Linked DNA regions of Homo sapiens: region 2 is linked to region 1. The links are contacts of gene promoters, found by promoter capture Hi-C in human tissues and cell types (Jung and others, 2019). All regions are on one chromosome and are shown on one strand. Each heading gives the region's core, a stretch centred on a gene start or on the middle of the fragment in contact. The rest is flanking DNA. Distances are from core to core; before and after follow the strand shown.

Region 1 (3,877 bases), core at 400-2,899:
CCTTTCCATATCCAGTAACCAGGAGTTAGGTGGAGAACTGAAGCCAAGGAGAGGAGTGAGCCCCATGTGAAATCAGGGAAATAATCAAAGGGAACAACAAATGGTTTGGGGAAATGTGTTTGCTTCTAGTGCTCACTTCAGACAAAAATACATTTTTATAAAAAATGCACACCGCATATTTTTCTTGCCAAAATGCCCCTAGGAGTCTCCTCTAGTCTTGATAGCTTTGCCCTTCTTCTGCCAGATACCCAAGTGGAGAGTCAGCACGAAGTCTCGGAGGTGCAGGTGTAACATCTCCAATGGAAGGGACAGATGAAACATGGCTGAGTAAATGCATGATTTACAAATCGACACACCAGTGATCTGAGCCCAGGTGCTCTTGCTTGTGCCAGGATTGCCTTCCCTGGGAGTGCAGGAAGCCCAGATAAAGTAACCCCACCCACCCACCCTTCCTCGCACGCTCAGGAAGACAGTCCTGGTGGAAGAACCTCATTTCACTTCATTTTTACAAAATTTACCCCACCACGTGCTGGGAGAAAAACAATAAATAATTAACAATGCATGAACATGTCAAATGGAAAAAGAAAAATGCCTTTCAGATTATATCTTATGAATGACTTTTGTTCTTGGTTTGTGGATAAGGAAATTAGCCATGTTTCCCTGTGCTTGACAGAACTTGGGCAACCTCCTCAGCAGCTTGGTGTGCAGTTTTTATAGAGTTACGTGAAGCAATTGATTGTTTCTGGAAGACGGTGGCAATGCCTGTAATCGAATAGATGGCAATAAAGCATTCAACTGTCATCCACAGAGGCAGCCACTTGCCAGAGCCAACATGTGCCGAGGGTAGAGAGTCTACGGCTCTGAGACGCCTGGCAAGGCCTCTCCAGTTCCTGCAGTCCTGAACCTCAGGGGTGGTGGCCGGAGGCCGTTAGATTAGCGAGGACACAGCCTGAGCTGGAAGGAGGGGTCCAACTGGGATCTCTGACACAAACATGGCTTAAACAAAAAGACACGTAATTCATTTTGGAATCTCAACTGCTTTTGTGTAGACATAACTTTTTTTTTTTTTTTTTTTTTGAGATGGAGTCTTGCTCTGTCGCCCGGCTAGAGTGCAGCGGCGCAATCATGGCTCACTGCAATGTCCACCTCCTGGGTTCAAGCAGTTCTCCTGCCTCAGCTTCCCAATTAGCTGGGATTACAGGCACCCACCACCATGACCAACTAATTTTTGTATTTTTTTTAGTAGAGACGGGATTTCAACTCGATTATCTCCATCTCCTGACCTTGTAATCTGCCTGCCTTGGCCTCACAAAGTGCTGGGATTACAGGCATGAGCCACCGCACCCAGCCCACGTTAAATATTAAGATTCCATGCAGGCGAAGCAACAGGAGAACCTGGCAAGAACAGATGCCACCCCGCCAGGCAGCCCACAAGGCCTGCCCCCTGTGTGCTGGCCGCTGAGGCCTGAGGCATGGGGACTGGCAGGAGGCCCACTGGGTCGGAGAGAGAACTCTGAAGCTTGGAGGGAGGAAGGTGTGATGAAGCCTGGGTCCCTGTCCCTAAGGGGTCCTGACAGTCTGGGCCCCACCCTGAGTCTATGACTGGCTTCCCCTTTGTGAGGAGAGCAGACCCTGCATCATCAGCAACCAGTGCTCCCTCCAGCCTCCGCGCATTTCAGCTGGCGCTGCAGCTGCTGCACAGAGACCCACAGAGGCCACCCTCGGAACCAGCGCCCAATGAGAGGGCGGGACCTGTGTTCCTCCACACAAAGCCAGGCGCTGGGGTAAGCGTAGGAGGCGACACGTAGGATGGGAGGGTGGCCCCGATCATGCCTCTGTTCCAGGACCAGCCCCTTCCCGAGAGCACAGGGGCCAGGGTCACTAGGAGCAGCGAGTGTGCACTGGGACCCCCGAGGGGCAATTTGTAGTCAGCCCTTCATACTCCTTCAAGGGAAAAGCAGTCCAGCATTGTATGAAGTCATGTACTTTTCAATCCAAAAATTTCCTATGGTGTCCAGTGCCTCCTGCATGCTGAGGTGCCAGTTATATAAGAGTGAACGAAGTAGACCCATTCCTGAGACTAAAGTTACCAAAGGAGGGGAGTGTAAGTTAACTGCATCCCATAGTGGGTACAGGAAATTCAACTGAATTCAACCAAAGCCGATTGAATGGCCGCTGTGCTCTGGGAACTGTGACAGATGCTAGGGTTATGAGACGGAACTGGATCATCTATGAAACACACATGGTTGTAATTCAGGGCCGAGCAGAATTGTTTCCATAGGATAAGTGTGAAGTGGTATGGACCCCACGGGGGAAAAGAAAATCCCCCCAGTGTAGAAAGGAAGGGCTTCAAGGAGGAGTGGGCATTCATGCTGGGCTTCCTGGGAGAGGTGGGCTTCCATCAGCAGAAACTCAGGGGCTCTAGGGGCATTTGAGGCTGAGGAGGGTGGGCTGAAGCACTGGGCTCCTGTTGTCACATGCGAGCGGGAAGCGGGCTGTGACAGGCCGAACAGCGGCCGAGAACGGGTGCAAGGCCGTGAGTGCCTGCCGGCCTGTAGCCTCCACACCGCAGGCAGAGGTCATGATGAGGGAAGAGATCACACCTGCCCATCTCCAGTCTTCAAAGAGGCAAAGTCAGCTCTCCCAACTTGGGCTAGTGATGGCGTTTGCGTTTCAAGCAGCTCAGTCTACCCCGGGTTTGTTGGAAATGAGGCTACTCTGGGTGTCTTGGGGCTGAGCGTACACATGGGACTTGATCTTTGACCTCTGCGACCTTAGAACTTTCTTGAGAAAACAGAACTTTCCTGATAATTAACAGAAAAAATAGTGCATGATTTCTGGTTTAATAATAAAATAATTATTCTGTGTTTCAAGCAATACAAATTTTTATTCAAAAGAACATTTAGGTAGGAAGTTTTTTTAAGTTGGTCAACTCAAAAAACGGGACTGTCTCATCTATAATTGGGGTGAAAAGCATTCTACATTCCATATAAACTATAAGCCACAGCTATCAACTATGCATCAGGAAAGGTGACAAGCAGAATGTGGACCATTTACAGGCCAAGTGCTTGAGGGTGACTGATCTCCACAAATGGCTTCAATGACCTAGAACAATCACGCACAAGGCCTGCAGCTACTGTGCGTTCCTACCCAATAAAGGTGGGATATTTTCTATGTCTACACCAAGCTTGTCCAATCCGAAGTCCTTGGGTCTCATGCAACCCAGGAGAGCTTTGAATGTGGCCCAACACAAATTTGTAAACTTTCTTAAAACATCATGAATTTTTTGTGATTTTGTTTTGTGTTTTTAGCTCATCAGCTGTCGTTAGTGTGAGTGTATTTTATGTGTGGCCCAAGACAATTCTTCTTCCAATGGGCCCAGGGCAGCCAAAAGACTGGACACCCCTGGTAGACAATGTAAATCAAAGAAAATGACCACCGCAAGTCTCAATCATTTAAGAAGTTTATGTGCCAAGGTTAAGGATGTACCCAGGAAAAAGAACACAGAACCACAGGAAAAGGCTGTGGCTTATGCTTTTTCCCCCATAGAGGGTCTGGGGACCTTAATAAGTAAAGAGAAAAGAGTAGGTATTGGGGGAAAGAGGAAGGAAAAAAAAAGGAGGGTCTGTAAGAGGGAAGCAGTTGCAACTTTTTGAATCTTTGGTCAGCATTCACTGAATACACATTTTATAAGTGGGGCGGGTAGAGGAACAGTCGCTTAGCATTCGTCTTGCTTAGTGAAACTTCATTTTTATATAAGATGAAATAAACATAGGACAGAGGATGCCATCAGTTATGCATTTGCCTCAGGTAAATGGAGGGATGACTTTGAGTTCTGTCCTTTGTCCCGTGCCTGTGAAGATGAGTTATCATCTTA
Region 2 (4,326 bases), core at 1,210-3,709, 130 kb before region 1:
TTACTGTCCTCTACAACCAAATCAAGAGTCTTTTAGTCCGAATTCCCCTCCCCAATCTTTCACGCCATTGTGTTGGCTTCTGCCAGGATTTTTACTCTAACTTGATTTTCACCCTCAGTATTAGTTATGATTATTACCGTGGTGTTTATGTAACCAGTGTTTACTTTAAACTTTCTAAATTTATGCAGAATTTGGGGCTCTTCTTTCTTATATTTTGGGCCTTTCTTCTTGGCACAATTTCCTTCTACTTGACGAGCATGAGGAGACGGGGGCAATCAGCCCTTTTGGCTCATCTGAAAATGTCCTTTGTTTTGCCTTGTTCATGAGTGGTCGTTCGTCCTGATGCACCTTCTGACCCCTCATCCCATAGCTATTACATGGCCACCCTGTGGCAGGCATTGTTTTAGGGCTAGGGATCCAGCAGTGAGCAAATTTGTGAAAAGTTCTTATTTCATGACATTTTATTGGAGGGAAGCATAAAATAATCAGGTAAAAATAAATATCAATATAAAAATCAGTCTCTATGAAAAGCTACAGAGAAAAACAAGAGGGTAGAAAGCAGGGAGGGAGAGTGCTGGGCTGCTGCCCTAGGGGGCCATCTGTATGCCGTTGAGGAGGGCCTCACTGAGGGGGGATATTTTAGGGATCCATGAGTGATGTGAGAGAGGGAGCTGTGTGCGTGTCAGGAAGAACATTCTAGAGTGAGAAAGAGCCGTGAAAAGTGTGTGGTGTGTCTGAGGAAGAGCAAGGAGGCCGGTGTGGCAGGGGTACAGGAGATGAGGTCAAAGTGCCAGGACCAGGCAGTGTAGACCATTGTGGAGAAGCCATTGGATAGTATTGAGCAATGGAATGACAGTGATTTTTCTGAGCGTGTTGAGGACTTTATTCCACTCCCACACGGTGTCTGCTGGAGGATCTGATGGTGGACTAATTTCTTCCTTCGAACGTGATTTTTTTTTTTACTTGCTGCTTTTAAGGACTCTTCTGTCTCCAGTGACATTATGATATGTCTAGTTATGGATTTAATTTTGTTCATTGTATTGGGGATTTGTTTTGCTTTTTTTTTTTTTTTTGAGATGGAGTCTTGCTCTATCCTGGAGTGCAGTGGCATGACGTCGGCTCACTGCAACTTCCTCCTCCCTGGTTCAAGTGATTCTCCTTCCTCAGCCTCCCAAGTAGCTGGGATTACAGGTGTGTGCCACCATGCCTGGCTAATTTTTTGTATTTTCAGTAGAGACGGAGTTTCACCATATTAGCCAGGATGGCTCAGGTGATCCGTCTACCTTGGCCTCCCAAAGTGCTGGGATTACAGGTGTGAGCCACCGCGGCCAGCCTGTTGTGCATCTTAAATATAATCACTGTGTCTTTCAGAAGCTTAGGTTGCCAGATTTAGCAAATAAAAATGCAGGATGCCCAGTTGAATTTGAATTTCAGGTGAATAATAAATGATGTTTTTTTGTTATGAGTATGTACCATGCAGTATGTGGGACATACTTATACACTAAAAAGTCATTTGTAGTTTATGTGAAAATTCAGATTTAACTGGTGTCCTATATTTTATCTGGGAACACTATCAAGTTCAGGGAAATTCAGAACTATTATCTTTACCAATCTTACCTTTCCTCCATTCTTTCTCTTCCTGTACTTCCAATTATAGCTGCATTACACCACCTCATTCTAGCGTCTTTCCCTCTTCACATATTATATTTTCTTGTTATCATCTGGGTAAATTATTTTTCTGGTTTCTCAGTTTTCTCTTCAGCTGAATATTATGTGCTATTTAATATATCATTTAGCTTTAATTTTGAAGATTATATTGATTTCATTTGTTCTTTTTCAAATCCACCAAGAATTTTTTCTCTCTTTCATTTTTAATTTCCTACTTTAATTTTTTAAATATTCTACAAACATTTGCCTTGTCATCAGTTTCTGGTAGCACCACGCTTGCCGTCTCGGAGCTCCGCGTGACACTGGCTGCTGCTAGCTTGTCTCTGCTTCCAATACTTCTGGCATTTCCTCATGGTGTTGCGCTTCCTCACCTATTTTATATTTGTGCTGGCAGCCTGTGTTGGTGGCGATCCTATGGGGCCCAGTCTGGGAGATAGTATCCAGAAAGCTTTGTGTTTGCTTCTGCCAGGTGTCCCAGGGCACGACCAGCCTGGGATCACTTCATGTTAGCTTCTTAGTTTAAGGTGTCCCAGGTACAGGTAGCAGAACTGCAATTGCTAAGGGTAAATGAGGGTCACCCTGTAGTAACACATTCTTTGGAAAGAGCTCAGAGAGAGACAGCAACACTCCTTGGTGCTCTCCATCTGCCGGCAGGGAGGTATTTTCTAGTTCCCTCTTTCTTTGGGCCTCTAACCCTCAGAGAGTGTCCTCTTTAAGTTCCCAGACAAAGCCCTTCATCCTATCCCAGCAGAGTGACTAAGGACCAAACCTCCTGGAGACTGCAGAGGTCACCAAGGCAGCCGCAGGTCAGGTTCGAGTCTGCATTCCAGCACCCTCTGGGATTTGTAGCCCCTTCCATGAACTTGGGTGCTCATTTCCCAGGGATTTTGTGATTTGCTTGAGCATTCCTCGGTATTTGTAGTGGATGTGTGGCTGGGATGTCTGATCTGCCCCATTGCAAGGGCAGAATCAAGGCCGCTGTGGGGTATCTGCTCCTCCGTGACACAACGGACCTCCAGATGGGCCCTTGAAGCTGCTGAGACACACTGTCCTGTGAATTCCTGGCTCCCACCCTTTTTCTTTTTGTCCTAATATTTCAGCCAGTGCAGCTGTGTGTCTTGTTAGAATTTTTGCCTTCACAAGCTGTCATTTAGGCTCTGACTGGGCACATAGCAGCAAAGTGGGCACTAGAGCATTTGTTTTCTTGAGTGACCTCCAGCAAACATTCGACAAAGAAAAATTACACTTGCTAGTTTGCAAAGGCCATGCTGAGCGATTGATTAATATTAACGCCAGTCTTCTGAAAAAGAAAAGTATTTATAGGTCTGTATTTTATTTTTGTTTAAAAGACCTAAAACTTTGACTCTCAGCTGGTCCATGTAGAAGGTCTCTGATCAGTTAATTTTCCAGCAGGAATTCTAAGTTCTGTTACTGTTCTTGGATATATTTATCAGACGTTCAACAGTTCTGCCTACGGCTGATATTTCAAGAACAGAGTGAAACAGAAGTCCCATTGTTTCCCACTCCTTCCATTTTACAGGTGCAATTGTGTGTCTCATGCATGGTTCTTATACATTCATACAAATCAGCCAAGAGTCAGGCATTGATATGTACCAGGCAGGGAGTGAATTCAGTTGCTCTCAGCTGTTGACCCAAAGAAGAGCCCCCAGTTTCTGCAGGGTGTTCCATTAATATACAACCGGAAAACAATCTTTTACCATTTTGTGCTAAAAATTATTTTAAGGGGTAGAATTTTTCCTCAGTTGTCAGATTCTTCACTGTATTCATTTTGCTTAAATACAGTTTGTGGGCTGGGCATGGTGCTCACACTAGTTATCCTGGTGCTTTGGGAGGCCACAGCGGGAGGGTCTCTTGAGGCCAGGAGTTAGAGACCACCTGGGAAACATACTGGTGCTTTGGGAGGCCACAGCGGGAGGGTCTCTTGAGGCCAGGAGTTAGAGACCACCTGGGAAACATACTGGTGCTTTGGGAGGCCACAGCGGGAGGGTCTCTTGAGGCCAGGAGTTAGAGACCACCTGGGAAACATACCAAGACCCTATTCCTTCAAAAAATAAAATATTAGCTGGGCATCGTGGCATGCTCTTATAGTCCTAGCTAGGGAGGCTGAGGCAGGAGGATCACTTGAGCTCTGAGTCTGAGGCTGCAGTGAGCCATGATCACACCATTGCACTCCAGCCTGGGTGACAGAGCGAGGCCTTGTCTCTAAATATACACACATACACACACACACACACAAAGAAGCAAATGGATGTTAAAAGAACAAATGGAGGCCATGTGTGGTGGCTCATGCTTGTAATCCCAGCACTTTGGGAGGCTGAGGTGGGCAAATCACTTGAGGTCAGGAGTTCGAGACCAGCTTGGCCAACATGGTGAAACCCTGTCTCTACTAAAAATACAAAAATTAGCCAGGTGTGGTGGTGCGTGCCTGTAATCCCAGCTATCCAGAAGCTGAGGCAGGAAAATCGCTTGAAACTGGGAGGTGGAGGTTGCAGTGAGCTGAGATCACACCACTGCACTCCGGCCTGGGTGACACAGGGAGACTCCGTCTCAATGAAAAAAAGAAGAAATGGAAACTCATCAATTAAGTTTAATTTGGCAGCTTTTCTTTTTTTCAGAAACACATCAAGCAGCTGTGAA

Evidence for each region. The method cuts DNA at HindIII sites, captures the fragments that hold promoters and counts their contacts. A contact is called where the count stands out against the background at its distance.
Region 2: a contact is called between a fragment that was not itself captured here and the fragment with the promoter of TTLL2 in region 1, in 1 of the 25 tissues and cell types used here (mesenchymal stem cells).

Annotation. Positions count from the first base shown.
Region 1 is chr6:167,323,437-167,327,313 of GRCh38, forward strand. TTLL2 (tubulin tyrosine ligase like 2) reads left to right here and starts at 1,650. Exons shown (of 3, transcript NM_031949.5): 1 at 1,650-1,784. The coding sequence starts at 1,738. RefSeq lists an enhancer at 1,189-1,690. The HindIII fragment of the contact is 5,612 bases long and covers 1-3,877 here.
Region 2 is chr6:167,189,327-167,193,652 of GRCh38, forward strand. It overlaps LOC124901462 (a long non-coding RNA gene), which reads right to left. Exons shown (of 2, transcript XR_007059877.1): 2 at 4,257-4,326. It also overlaps the pseudogene TCP10L2. Among named protein-coding and RNA genes, the nearest start is that of GPR31, 34 kb to the left of the region's middle. The HindIII fragment of the contact is 7,121 bases long and covers 1-4,326 here.